Regions from separate parts of the Homo sapiens genome. Here region 1 is linked to region 2. The links are contacts of gene promoters, found by promoter capture Hi-C in blood cells and fetal thymus (Javierre and others, 2016). All regions are on one chromosome and are shown on one strand. The core of a region is centred on a gene start or on the middle of the fragment in contact, and the rest is flanking DNA. Distances in the headings are between cores, read along the strand shown. Region 1 holds the start of CMC2 (C-X9-C motif containing 2). Region 2 holds the start of TERF2IP (TERF2 interacting protein).

What was found. Contacts are between HindIII fragments. The CHiCAGO score rates a contact against its expected background, and 5 or more counts as called.
Region 1: the fragment with the promoter of CMC2 here is called in contact with the fragment with the promoter of TERF2IP in region 2 in 3 of 17 cell types (M0 macrophages, non-activated CD4 T cells and M1 macrophages); the score reaches 17.6 in M0 macrophages.

Annotation. Positions count from the first base shown.
Region 1 is chr16:81,000,637-81,008,148 of GRCh38, forward strand. CMC2 (C-X9-C motif containing 2) reads right to left here and starts at 6,249. Exons shown (of 4, transcript NM_020188.5): 1 at 6,098-6,249. It overlaps CENPN (centromere protein N), which reads left to right and starts at 6,578. Exons shown (of 11, transcript NM_001100624.3): 1 at 6,578-6,641. RefSeq lists enhancers at 3,574-3,663, 6,527-6,636, 6,947-7,086 and a silencer at 5,987-6,356. The HindIII fragment of the contact is 14,741 bases long and covers 1,929-7,512 here.
Region 2 is chr16:75,642,661-75,650,129 of GRCh38, forward strand. TERF2IP (TERF2 interacting protein) reads left to right here and starts at 5,113. Exons shown (of 3, transcript NM_018975.4): 1 at 5,113-5,892. The coding sequence starts at 5,223. It overlaps KARS1 (lysyl-tRNA synthetase 1), which reads right to left and starts at 5,005. Exons shown (of 14, transcript NM_005548.3): 1 at 4,918-5,005. The coding sequence starts at 4,979. RefSeq lists enhancers at 4,858-5,037, 5,077-6,034, 5,968-6,237, 6,035-6,990 and a silencer at 5,538-5,657. The HindIII fragment of the contact is 3,802 bases long and covers 2,819-6,620 here.

The DNA of each region.
Region 1 (7,512 bases), core at 4,999-7,498, 5.4 Mb after region 2:
CCACAATGAGATATCACCTCACATCAGTGAGAATGGCTATTACTAAAAAGTCAAAAAAACACAGATGCTGGGGGAGGTTGTGAGAAAAGAGAATGCTTATACACTGTTGTGGGAATGTCAATTAGTTCACCCACTGTGGAAAGCAGTCTGGAGAGTTCTCAAAGAGCTTAAAACAGCTACCACTAGATCCAGCAATCCCATTACTGGGTATATAGCCAAAAGAAAATAAACCGTTTTACAAAAAGAAAAACATGCACTCATAAGTTCTTTGTAGCTCTATTCACAATAGCAAAGATATGGAATCAACCTAAGTGTCTATCAGTAATGGATTGGATAAAGAAAATATGTACATATACACCATGGAATACTAAACAGCCATAAAAAAGGACGAAATTATGTCCTTTGCAGCAACATGGATGCAGCTGGAAGCCATTATCCTAAGTGAATTAACGCAGCAACAGAAAGCCAAATATGGCATATTCTCACTTATAAGTGGGAGCTAAACACTGGATACTCACAGACATAAAGATGGCAACAAAAGACATTGGGGACTAATAGACGGTAGAAGGAGGGTAAGGGCTGAAAAACCATTAGGTACTATGCTCACTTACCTGCATGATGGGATCAACAGTACCCCAAACCTCAGTGTCATCCAATGTACCCATGTAAGAAACCTGCACATTACTTATATCCAAAATCTGAAATAAAATTTGAAATTATATATTTTTTAAAAGGCAAATACTTTAACATTCCACTTATACGAGGCACCTAAAGTAGTCAAAATCAAAGAGACGGAAAGTGGAATGGTGGTTACCAGAGGGAGGTGGAAGGGCAGGAGGAGATGAATGGGGAGTTACTGTTTAACAAGCAGTTTTACAAGATAAAAAGTATTATGGAGATGGACGGTGGTGATGGTTGCACAACATTATTAATGTATCTGATACCACTGAACTGTGCATTTAAATGGTTAAGATGGTAAATTTTATGTTACGTGCATTTCACCATGCGAATTTTATGGTATGTAAATTATACCTCAAGCTGTTAAAAAAAAACCTGTGAGAAATTCAAACTGCCCATCCACCTCCCACTCAACAGAAACAAAAAACTGTCTGAACAAATAATTCCAAAGGATTATAGCATAGCTACTATTTCAATTGCAACTTATAAAAATGCAGTAGGTCCCTGTACTATTCAGTAACTACTAAACACACACACACACACACACACACCACAGCTGAAGACCACAAATAAAGCCATTGCACCTAGTTAAGTATTCATTTGAAACGAAAAAAGAAAATGCAGCCAAGTTTAAATTTTGTTTGCCTGCCACTGACTCCAAGATCCTTCCAATGATATCAATTTTTGCCTTAGAAAAATTAAGTTTCATACAGTTCAGCAATTTAAGTTATCCAATATCGTACCAATATTCTGCACCTACATTTATGTGAAGTGTTAGTTTTCTGGTTTCTGCCTTATTTTTTCCTAAAGAAAACATACACTGGTATAGGCCAGATGCGGTGGCTCACACCTGTAATCCCAGCACTTTGGGAGGCTGAGGCAGGTGGATCACCTGAAGTCAAGAGTTCAAGACCAACCTGGCCAACATGCCGAAACCCCATCTCTACTAAAAATTCAAAAAATTAGCTGGGCGTGTTGGTGGGCGCCTGTAATCCCAGCTACTTGGGAGGCCGAAGCAGGAGAATCACTTGAACCTGGGAGGCAAGGTTGCAGTGAGCCAAGATGGCACCACTGACCTCCAGCTTGGGTAACAGCGCAAGTCTCCATCTCAAAAACAACAATAACAGAAAACAGACACTGGTTTAATCACTAGAAAATGTCTCTAACATTTTCTAAATGTATTTGACAAAATATTTTTGCACATTTCTATCAACCGGCACTCAAATGTGTGCCTTTACAATTCAGAAACAAGCTTATGATGTACTGAAATGATTTCTTTAATTGACAAATACCTGAGAAGACACTTGACTGAGACAATATTAATAGATGCAAAGATGTATATAAGCCTAAGTACATAAAATGGTACATATTTTCCTCCCTCTATAACAAGTTTACCTCAAATACATATGCTATTGTCAATCAGGGTAGGGTACCAATAAAACGTCTTCCCTTCTAATTCACATTATTTAGTTTTACTTTGAATTGACAAATAATAATTGTATATATTTATAAGGCCCTTCTACTTTCTTAGCCTAGATGACTATGTCAAAGAATAAAATGGTTTAATTTCATTTCCTTTTCCTATTCTTGGTAAGAAGCTACTACTTAACCTAAAGCTCTAAACACTCACCTTATCCCTTATCCAACAGATTCCTTGCTTTCCCCATCACTCCCTTCTTTCTTCTACCACATATTTTTAGCTAGATATGTTCTTCCTCCCCTTGCCCTCTACCTACCCGTCACCTATGCTCACTTCCATCCACTTTGTGTCACTTGGCTTTGCCTAAATGTTGGTGCATACACAGATGTACTGCTGTATTCTGGGGTGTAATATGTAAGGTACAACTGTAAAAATGGCAATGTTCTCTCAGAACACATGTAATTAAGTGCTGATGTCTTCCAGCACTCACCTTTAAAAGACTATTCTAGTAACACAATTTAACTCAAAATATATTTAACAAACTGAAGAAACGCTAAATACGTATTCCATATTCTTATTCTTAAAATTTCTTCAAAGTCATAAGAAGATATCAACGTTATTAGTTTAGAAAATAATTTGTTGAACACTTGCCAAGTGCTAAGCACAAGTCTTACAATGCAATAACCTTATGAAACGGGTAGCCTTTTAAATTCAGTTGAACCATGAGAAACTGTCTTTTTATAGGTCAAAATATGCACTGCCCACATTTTCATAGAGAAACTAAGCCCCAGGTCACACAGTAGTTAGCTGCAAAGTCACAACCCAACATAATCTCTAACCATGACAGATTTTTAATCCATGTTCAAAATAGGAAAGACAGGCATTCACAGCAGTTTGTGAATGAAATACATTCAGATGGAAAAACTATTTCCCAAAGAGCTTCTGATTGACTACAAGTTCAAAAGGTAGTCATTCTAGGCCCAAGTTCCAAAGCAGCCAACGTAATACTATCCTGTAAGTGTGGAAATAGTGAGTCTGTCAAGACACAAAAAAAGAGAAGAGTATTGTATTTGTCACTAGTCAGCTACTCACAAGTTACATCATTTTGGTTACTAATCTGAGACCTAAGTCTCTCTTCCATAAAATGGAATTTGCTCTTGACCTATATATCTCAGTGATGGCATGGGTTTAAAATAACTTATGTGAGGCTGGAAGCTGTGGCTCACGCCTGTAATCTCAGAACTTTGGCAGGCCGAGGTGGGCAGATCACTTGAGGTCAGGAGTTCGAGACCAGCCTAGCCAACATGGTGAAACCCAGTCTCTACTAAAAATACAAAAATTCGCTGGGCGTGGTGGTGGGGGCCTGTAATCCAGCTACTTGGGAGGCTGAGGCAGGGGAATCGCTTCAGCCCTGGAGGCAGAGGTTGCAGTGAGCTGAGATGGCACCACCTGCACTCTAGCCTGGTCGAAAGAGTGAGACTCCATCTCAAAAAATAATAATTATGAACATCAGCAGCATGGTGGAAACGAAAGTGAAAGGAACATAAGACCTCGTTCTTGGATGTTTCCAGTGAAATAGAGAGGGATAAATTCCATTCAAACTGTTATTATTTGAATAGAATAATATTTAATTCCAGTGCAGACCCCAAGCCAGGCTGCTCCTGGGAGCGACCCCAGGGACTGCCTGGGGAGGAAGGCTTAACTACTCTGACTTCCATCAGTTTGTCAGTCTCATCTTTACAATGGCATTTAAGAAAACATCAAAAAGGTAAACTTGTCACGATTCCACCACCTCCCTCCTCAATCCAGCCCCATCCACTGTGTATGCACACAATGATACCAAAACAGTCCACTGAAATTCCTTAAAATTTTCAGCTGTCAAATGTGTTTTGATAGCTAGCTAAGGGGCCCATAAGGGCAATTTTAACTTTTCCTGGGGAGTAAGCTGGGAGGGTAGAAGCGGTAGGGTACTCTTAGTGAAGATATAAAAATTATAGCTTTCTTTTACTCACTCCTTCAATCTTTGTCTACTGACTCTGAGGTACAATTTTCCTCAAGAGTAGTCTAAGACAGATTTCAACCACCAGGTGGCACAATTTTAGAAAATAAACCAAGAGCCAGCGCTGTATTAACTCTAGTATAAAGAAAACGGGTAAGCATTCTAATAACTCACTTCAGCAAATCTATAATCACAAGGAAGAACCCTGTATTTTAATGCCAGTTGGCTTTTCTTTAGAAAGATTTTCCTATTGTGCGGCTGCACAGGAAATTTACACTACAGTTGTAATTTCTAATGCTACTGCAAAATAAGCAAAAAACAAGGCCAGAAAAGTCTGTTGTGCAGAGTCTGAAGAAACTGTTCTCCAGAAAAAAAAACTGTAAACACTCCGCTTTCTAAAATATATCTTTTTAGGCTAGGCGCGGTGGCTCACGCCTGTAATCCCACCACTTCGGGAGGCCGAGGCAGGCAGATCACTTGAGGTCAGGACAAGCCTGGCCAACATGGTGAATCCCCGTCTCTACTAAAAATACAAAAATTAGCCAGGCGTGGCCTGTAACCCTAGCTACTCAGGAGGTTGAGGCACGAGAATCACTAGAACTCGGGAGGTGGAGGTTGCAGTGAGCCGAGATCGCGCCACTGCACTCCAGCCTGGGCGACAAAACAAGACGCCGTCTCAAAATAAAATTTAAATATATATATATATAAATAAATAACATAAAACATTTTTAAGGCCTACATTTCGGCCCTGGTATTAAAGAATTATTTTTCAACTTTTCAAGCTATGAGCCATACTGCAGCAGAGGTCGCAGACACGGTCGGGGACGGCCTCCCCTGCCCACTTCCACTTATCACAGGACCAGTTCTAAACCGATACCACTAAGAAAGCGACTGGCGCTGGCACTGTAGACCCCATGCCAGGCTGCTTCTGGGAGGGACCCGGGGGTGCTGCCTAGGGAGAAGGGCTTAACTACTCTGACTTCCACCGAAGAGTTTCTCAGAGAATGCGCCCTCGCAGCTTTCCCTGAATAAACATTACCAGGACTTACAAGGTGCCTAGCACTCTGCCAGAATCATGTGAATTTCAGAGGAAAATACTCGTTCACACATCTCAAGGAACGCACAGGCTCGTGAGGGAGCATTCTTGCCAATGCACATGGTAAATGCCCAATCGATGTTCGCGGAATGTCAGAAACTGACAACTAGTTCAGGCCTCAACGCAGTAGGAAAAGGATGAAAAAGAAACTCATTTTAAATCAACTAAACAAGTGCAAAAGCCATACATATAAAGGAGAGGAGATACGAATGGCATCACAACATAATTCCTTTGCCATCGAAAACTTCCATGCCTTTGAGGTTTTAAATGAAGACTTCCAAAACTGATTTACTTAAGACTCTACGTAAAACGCCTGATCTTTAAACGCAAGAAAAGCAAGATGAATGTATTACTTTCCTGGAAAAAAAAAGCATTAAAGGAGAAAAAAGAGTAAAGTGTACTGATGGGGCTCTTGGTGGGTTCTCACATCACAGGGCACTGCAGCTGAGACTTGCTTGAACGGCCCCCGTTTTCTACCCGCAAATTCTCAATTGCTAGATAAACAACAATAACAACACTTTATTGGGCGCTCATCGTGTCAAACCCTGTGTTGAGGGCTCCATTCCTCAAGGTCCATTTTACCGGCGAGGAAGCCCCGGCTCCGGGAGGGGAGGAGCGCGCCCAAGGTCACCAGCCAGTTGAGTGAGTGGCGGGCGGATCCCAACCCCGAGCGACGCCCACGGCCTGTCTCGGCCACCAGCGTGTTCCAGCGAGCGCCCAGCCACCTCGCTCGCAGCCTCCCCAGCGCAGCAGCCCGGCTGTGGGCCTGCGGCAGCCGGGTCTTCCTGGTCCCCACCTCCTGGGGCCGACGGGCGGCAGGAAGGGGCTCGGCGGGACGCGCCATCAGGGACCTGAGGAGGAACAACGGAACGCGTTCGGAACGGCCTGGACTCCCGAGACTCACCCGACTCGTGGCCACACCGGGAGAACTGAAGCGGCAGTAGCCGGCGGAGACGCCCGACCCGAAGGCCGGCTGCTAGGGAGCAGACAGCTGAACCGCTTGCCAGACGCCGAAACCCAGTGACGCCCTCCACCGCTCCACCGTGCTCCCGGCTCCTCGCCCCCGCCGCCCGCGGGCCCCAAGGCGCATGCGCCGCCTGTCCTGGAGGGGCCCATTTCCGTCCGTCGTGGGGGGAGGCACAGTGAGTCCACTGGGGCACGGCAGCGTCTAAGCCACAAGCCGAGCACATAAGCCAGGTCCTAACGGAGCCTATGTGTAAGTCCACTACTGGTGCAAGGTTGCACACTTCTAAGAAGAGCGGCGTGGGGGGCTCGGCGACCTTCGCTTCAGTCGCTCCCCCGTGCAGTCCCCTGTGCCCAAGACACAGCCTGATGCTTGTGCTCCGGTGGGCGGAGCTTGGAGGCGGCGGGAACTGCAATTGGTGGCTTTGAAGGCGCGGCGAGCGGGAACAGCTCTTGAGGAGTGAGACTGCAGGAGATGTGGGCCGGTAAGAGAGCCCCGGGCGGCACTGGATCGGGCCCCGGAGGGTGTGGGGCCTTGAGGAAGCCAGATCCCAGGCCTCGGGGGTGGCTTTTTCGCAATTGTCGCACGTTGTGAGGCGCAGGATTGGCGCTGGGTCTCGGGCTCGGGGCGAGGAACTACGGTTCGGGCCGAGGTGAGGGGGCGGTGGCGCTGTGCCGGCTGTGACGTCACCTCGCCCGCGGTGGGGCGGGTGGAGCCTTTCGTAGGCTCGCGACTGCGTCAGGGGAGGGCCGTGTGGTCATGTGACCAGGGGCTCCGCTCTACGATCCTGGGGTTGCTTCCTTTCCCAGAGTTGGGGTTTTGCTTTTCTGTCACCTCGGCTTCCGTCGTTTTTTGTCCCTGTACCCTCTTGCGTTGCTCCTCGCATTGCCTGTTGGAGCGCAGCAGAGGTGTGTGGCTACGGGAACGTTACTTAAAATGGATCTTTTTGATCATGCGTTCCACAGATCTTGAGCATCTACTGTATGTCAGACACTAAAACGCTAGGAAGTATAAAGAAAGTTTTAAAATGGGGCCAGGCGCGGTAGTTTACGCCTGTAATCCCAACACTTTGGGAGACCGACGTGGGCGGATCACCTTAGGTCAGGAGTTCGAGACCAGCCTGGCCAACATGGTGAAACCCCGTCTCTACTAAAAATACAAAAATTAACCGGACGTGGTATCGGGTGCCTGTAATCCCAGCTATTTGGGAGGCTGAGGCAGGAGAAGCGCATGAACCCGGGAGGCGGAGGTTGCAGTGACCCGAGATCGCGCCACTGCACTGCACCCTGGGCGACAAAGCGAGACTGTGTCTCCGAAACAACAAAAAAAGGAAAGTTTAAAAATGGTCACGGGGT
Region 2 (7,469 bases), core at 3,863-6,362:
GTCAGCATTAGTCTCACTTTGCCCACTGGAGCCTGACTTAGACAACAAAATAGAACGGTGTGCAAAGCAGTATAGTACAGGGGGTAATATACCATCTTTGTAGTCAGGCTGCCTGGGACTAAATTCCAACACACTTGTCAATTATGTGACTTGGACGAGTGAATTAACTTCTCACCTGTGAAACGAAAATAATAATAGACAACCCCCACCAGTTGTTATGGTGTGTAATGAGATAATGTTTGTATAAAGGGATTACCCTGACCCTGGCATTCAGCTAACCAAATGTGAGCTTTCTAGGTATCTTTTAGTATCTTAACCCTTTACTCTCTGTGCCTCATATAGATTTAAATACATTTCTGGTTAAATCACTTGGTATCCAAACTCTTGATACTTATCACTTGAACCTGAAAAACCAAAGTAATGCGGACAACTCTGAGCTGTTCTGTATGATATGTTCATGTCTCTTATAGTCTGAATTTGCTATCTGAAACCAGAAACTAAACAGATTGGTGTAGGGAGGGATATCTTTACTATTCAAAGACAATTTATGGATCATTCTTTCAAACCGCTGAACATAATCAAATATTCTGCAATAGTGAACCACAGCAGAAGATCCCAAGTCATGCCCGCAAACATTCTGGCTTCAGGACACATCCTTCATTTTCGATATGAATTTAGAATAACTTTAAAAAATGAATTGAGGTTTTGAATCTTTCACCTTTTTTTTTTTTTTTTGAGACAGAGTCTCGCTGTGTTGCCCAGGCTGGAGTGCAGTGGTGCGATCTCAGATCACTGTAAGCTCTGCCTCCCGGGTTCACACCATTTTCCTGCCTCAGCCTCCGGAGTAGCTGGGACTACAGGTGCCCGCCACCATGCCCGGCTAATTTTTTTGGTATTTTTAGTGAAGATGGGGTTTCACCGTGTTAGCCAGGATGGTCTTGATCTCCTGACCTCGTGATCTGCCTGTCTTGGCCTCCCAAAGTGCTGGGATTACAGGCGTGAGCCACCACGCCTGGCCGAATCTTTCATCTTGTAAAAAAGAAAAACAGATTCTGAATGGTTTCAAAGTTGACAGCTTTTTCTACATATAATGTCTTATAACATTTGTAAAGACAACCTTTCCAAAACACTGTGCTGGTGTTATCATGCTATAATTCAGTCAGTGGACTGCTAAGATTAGGCTGTCTAGTTCTTCTAGAATTAAGATAAATCTGTTTTCCACTCAACCAGGTGCTCCTCTTAAATCAAATCAATCTTAAGGATAATCCAAAAAGGTCCTAGGGATAGCACTAAGACTAGAAACCAAATTAATCTCAAGAGCACACAAAACTCCAGAAAGACAGAAAAGGGAAATAGCTGGCATTAGAAATTATTTGTTCAAACAAAGGTTTTGTTCTTAGCACTCTTCTAGAATAAGATCCACATGTCATCTCAAGACTCTAAGGAGAGACGATTTGAATTTATTAAAGAGAAAATGAGAAAGGACTATTGGTTTTGGTATTAGGGCTCCTTGTTTCCTTAGCAACAAGTCCAAAGACTTAGCCAGAGGCTTAACGGAAAATGAACCAAGTAAGGAAATAATTTTTGCTTCCAGAGCAATAAAGAAGGTAATGGGCACCAACCTTCTTTGATCAGAAAATGACTTGTCCTTGTGAGGCGCTGTGAAAGGAGCAAGTTGACCCAGTCGCAGTTCCCTGTGACCCCACTCTGCCCAGGAGGTTTTGCGCAGGGACCCCCTAACAAGCCTTACAGCAGCTTGCGTCAACATGGCAGAGCACCCTGGAACTAATGATTACCACCACCTAGCGGGAAACACAGAGATGTGGTGTCAGATGGGACAGACAGTATACATATACCCAACCAACTCTCTTATGGGTTGGGGAGGGGGACCATGCTTCTACTACCTTTTAGTCCCATTTAACTTAAGACTGTCTTAACTGATAGCAACCCTGTAACACTCTCTGTGCTACAACTGTAACTGACAATGTTCTTAGTCCTGACTATGGAAAAAACATGCATATCTGGGGTAAAGCCAACAGCAAGTTAATGGATAGCTTACAGGTAAAATTGCTCACAACATCCTAGAATATGGGAACAGGATGTGAGGCACTTTCTGAAGCCCTGAAGTGTGGTTTCTCACCTGGAGAGGAAATACCTGGCCACAAGATGGCAATAGGAAGCATATAAAATAAGAGGAAACTGTCACTATCAATTGCAAACTCTAGACAAAGATAAATGCAAGCCACACAAAAATACGTGTCAAAGAGAAGACTTGTTTGGAACTCTAGGAACAAGGGGAAAGGAGAATTTCAGGAAGGTCCTTAGACTGCGTTATGTTTATACATTATCAACACTGGAAGGCAACAGAATTACAGAGATCACCTTCTTTACCGTGTTCAAATAAATTTGAGGAGGCTATTTCACTCGGGCAGGGAGCACATCTGCTTTTAAACTTGGAGTCAATACCTGGCACAAAATGGTGCTTACTAAAAATTTCAGACCAAGGAATTCCCCAGAACAATAAACGGAAGGAAATGTTAATCAGAAAAAAATTATTTTAGCTCATGGTAACGAGAGGAATAGACATCAATGACAGGTAAGACAACGTGAGTAGTGCTGTGCAGTCAGGATACAGAGCATGGACTGTGGAGTCACAGGCCTGAGTTCAGATCCGTGCTCCAGTGCTCTGGATCACTGCTAGACTATATTTTAGGAATGCACACTTTAATAGTGCATTTAATTACTAGGACCTCAGTTTATTAATTTGAAAAATGGACAATAACTCCTCTTGCAAGGTTATTACTGACACTAGACAGAAAGCTTGTAGAGATCTAGCATTGTGCCTGGCACAGAAAAGCTGGTCAAAAAAGTAGTAGCTGTATTTAATTTTAGAAAAGTCAGTGAAGCAGGGAGTGGTGGCTCACGCCTATAATCCTAGCGCTTTGTGGGGTTGAGGCGGACGGATCACCTGAGCTCAGCAGTTTGACGCCAGCCTGGGCAACAAGGTCAAATCCCGTCTCTACTAAAACACAAAAATTTAACCGGGTGTTGTGGCATGCACCTGTAGTCCCAGGTACTTGGGAGGCTGAAGCACCAGAATTGCTTGAACCCGGGAGTTGCAAGTTGCCGTGGGCTGAAATCGCACCGCTGCAATCCAGCCGGGGCAACAACGACTCTGCCTCCAAAAAAAAAAAAAAAAAAAAAAAGTCAGTAAAGAGGAATTAACCAGTTTTTTCCGTTTACCTAAAAACACACTCTGAACTGGAAACCGTGCTTTCACCTGTGATATACAGTCCTAAAGTTCAATTCAATGTAATTGATTATCATAGGTGGTTTGAAAGAATGAACTAAACTTTAGGATCGTATATCACAGATATACCACATTCAATTAAATTTGACTTAATAAAGTCAAGTCAATTTTCTCTAAGGTAGCAGTCCAAAGACCAGGTTCCAAACTTTTATGGAAGTCCATCGGATTGCTCTAATAAAGGACAATATATTAAGGTCCTACCCAACTATAAACTTCGACAATTTCTCTTATACTTTTTCTAAGATATTTGAAGCACAAAGCCAGGGACACAAAAGGAAACATCAGGCCAGGGGTGGTGGCTCAGGCTCACGCCTGTCATCCCAGCACTTTGGGAGGCCAAGGTGGGCGGATCACAAGGTAACGAGATTGAGACCATCCTGCCCAACATGGTGAAACCCTGTCTCTACTAAAAATACAAAAATTGGCCAGCCATGGTGGCACACGCCTGTAATCCCAGCTACTCGGGAGGCTGAGGCAGGAGAATCGCTTGAACCCTGGCAGCGAAGGTTGCAGTGAGCTGAGATCGCGCCACTGCACTCCAGCCTGGCGACAGAGCGAGACTCCATCTTAAAAAAAAAAAAAAAGAAACATCATTTCTCTTTTCTTTTTCATTCAGGGTCTGGCTCCGTCTCAGTAACTCCTTGGGGAAAGCGATGGAGAAGGGCTCGCTCACGCAGCACTTCTGGCAGTCCCTGAAGGACCACTACCTCAAGTCTCCCAGGCTGGAGTGCAGTGGCACGACTTCAGCACACTGCAACCTCCGCCTCCTGGGTTAAAGCGATTCTCCTGCCTCAGTCTCCCGAGTAGCTGGGATAACAAGTGCGCGCCACGGGGATTAAGCCCTCTCGTATGCCTCTGGAATGGTACTATGTACCATCTTCCTAGCAATGATAAAACACTCAATTACCTGTGTTCTGTGGTTCAAATGGGGAACGCTAATGAGAATATAAGACAGCCAGTTAAAGGGTGGCTAATCCTGACTTATCTATGTTAACCTACATACTCCAGGGATTTGGGAGTGGTTAACAAAGATATCAGGCTGAATTAAGATGGTCTCTACTGTTAGACGTTGATCACTTAATACTCACAGGTATCTACTGAATAACCCATACGGGTAGATGCATGACAGTTTTAGAACTGATCCCTTTTAATACATAACGTTCAGAATGACCTTAGTGAGGCCCAGAAAATTTTGAAGGTCTTTCTGAAAAGCTAGGGTATTTAACATTTCTCCAACTTCCACGTTTACTGAGTGGCTCAACAAAAGAATGCATTTCTCAGAAAGGAGGATGAAGCTAAGCAGGAAGTTTCGCTTTTCTTTTCTGATAACTCTTAGTTCTCGTCCTAGTTCCTCCTCCACAGTCTCTTAACTCTAGGAGTATGATAGGGAGCATCCCGCCGGTGCCAGCTGGGAACGGGGAGCCGGCGTGCCCGGGGTATCCCGGGGTACGTGGTCTGCAGGGCGCAGCCACCACGTCTCAGCATGTGCGTACCCACGAGAGCCGGCAAGAAGGCCCCGGCACAGCAGCCTTGGTGGGAACCTCGCGGCGCTTCCCAGCCCAGACTCTCCTACCGCAAAGGCTTTAAAGACTCGCAGCGACACTCACTTCTTGCTCAGTTTCGGCTCGCTGCCATCCACTTTCACCTCGGCCGCCTGCACGGCCGCCATCTTCCCGGAGGGCCCGACCCAAAAGTAAGGAGGATAGTACGTTAATTTCCAGGTCAAGGTGCGAAGCCCCACCTCTTCCGGGGGAGAGGGGGCGGGCACTCTCGATGCGCCGCGGCTGCTGCTGCGCAGGCCCAGTGCTGCGCTTCGCGGCAGAGGCGTCTGCGGTGACAGCTCAGTCAGTTGAGCTCTGTGTGCCAGGCGCTCGCGAGGGGGTAGCTCTTCTAGTAGTGCTCGGCGTCAGACATGGCGGAGGCGATGGATTTGGGCAAAGACCCCAACGGGCCCACCCATTCCTCGACTCTGTTCGTGAGGGACGACGGCAGCTCCATGTCCTTCTACGTGCGGCCCAGCCCGGCCAAGCGTCGGCTGTCGACGCTCATCCTGCACGGCGGCGGCACCGTGTGCCGAGTGCAGGAGCCCGGGGCCGTGCTGCTGGCCCAGCCCGGGGAGGCGCTGGCCGAGGCCTCGGGTGATTTCATCTCCACGCAGTACATCCTGGACTGCGTGGAGCGCAACGAGAGGCTGGAGCTGGAGGCCTATCGGCTGGGCCCCGCCTCGGCGGCGGACACCGGCTCGGAAGCAAAGCCCGGGGCCCTGGCCGAGGGCGCCGCGGAGCCGGAGCCGCAGCGGCACGCCGGGCGGATCGCCTTCACGGATGCGGACGACGTAGCCATCCTTACCTACGTGAAGGAAAATGCCCGCTCGCCCAGCTCCGTCACCGGTAACGCCTTGTGGAAAGCGATGGAGAAGAGCTCGCTCACGCAGCACTCGTGGCAGTCCCTGAAGGACCGCTACCTCAAGCACCTGCGGGGCCAGGAGCATAAGTACCTGCTGGGGGACGCGCCGGTGAGCCCCTCCTCCCAGAAGCTCAAGCGGAAGGCGGAGGAGGACCCGGAGGCCGCGGATAGCGGGGGTGAGGAGGCTGAGCGCGGGGCCTCGCGGATATCTGCGCGGGTGGGGTTGGGATCTTTCTCCTGGCTGCCTGGCGTCCATCTTGGCATCTTCGGTAGCAGCGCTTGGCCCCGCCCCCTGTTGACATCCGGGTAAATTTGCACCATTTTCTTGCCTTCTCGCTCCCTTGTTGTTTATTATTGTTCTTTTTTTGCGATGGGTCTCTGTTACCTAAGCTGGTCTGAACTCCTGAGCTCAAGCGATCCTCCTGCCTCGGCCACCCAAAGTGTTGGGATTACAGGAGTGAGCCACCACGTCTGGCCTCTCGTCGTTTTTATTTTTTAATTTTTGAGTGGGGGCTCGCTCCGTCGCCCAGGCTGTGATGCAGCCGCGCGATCACGACCTACTGCATCCTGGACCTCCTGGGCTCAAGCGAATCTCCGGCTTCAGCCTCCCAAGTAGCTGGAACTACACTCCCGCGCCACCACGTCCCGCTAAATTAAAAAAAAAATTGTTGTAGAGATGGGGGTCTCGTTGTGTTGCCCTGACAGGTCTCGAACTCTTGGGCTCAAGCGATCCTCCCGTCTCGGTGTCCCAAAGTGTTGGGATTACAGGCGTGAGCCATCACACCCAGCTTCTTGGTCTAGTTTTAATTTACTTTACCATTGACTAGAATATTGACATGGTTCTATATTCAAAAGTTACAAAAAGTATATAGAAAATTCTCTCTTGGCCGGGCGCGGCGGCTCAAGCTTGTAATCCCAGCACTTTGGGAGGCCGAGGCGGGCGGATCACCTGAGGTAAGGAGATCGAGACGAGCCTGACCAACATGGCGAAATGCCGCCCCTACTAAAAATACAAAAATTAGCCGGCCGTGGCGGAGAGTTCCTGTAGTCCCAGCTACTCAGGAGGCTGAGGCAGGAGAATTGCTTGAACCCGGGGGGCGGAGGTTGCAGTGAGCCGAGACTGCGCCACTGCTCTCCAGCGTGGGTGACAGAGCAAGACTCCATCTCAAAAAAAAAAAAAAATTATCTCGTCCTTCCTGTCCACCAGCTACCCACGGGCTAACTGGCTTCTTGTGTTTCTTTTAAGAGATATTCCACAGACTCCTTTTTAAAAAAGATTGCTGTTATGTTCAGGTAGATTCAGTATAAAGGCGTACCAGACTTACTTTAATGCTCTGGCGTAACTGAATGCCTATGGACTTAAGAAGGTTCTCGGCAGTTGGAAGGTCTCTTCCTGGTCTTGCTTAGGTGAAGTGAGTTTTTAATGCAGTTGAATTGAAAATTGGGGTTCAGTATGTCTAGGATACAGAACGAGTCTGTTAAGATGTACTTGGTGACGTACCTGGCATTGATAACTTAAACCGATAGACCCTTTTGTTTAAAGAGGCATGCTGCTTCTCCTCCCCCTCCGTAATCCTCCCACCTTTTCTTTGCCTGTATGACTACTCCATTTAACACTTGAAGTCTGGGGAGTAAAATCTTTTTCTCCTGTTCAGTATGCTTAGTAGGAATTTTGTTTTGGTAAAAGTGACATTTCAGCTTCATTCATTCAGCAGAAATTTGAGTGCCAGACATTGTGGTCCTGCTGGAATAT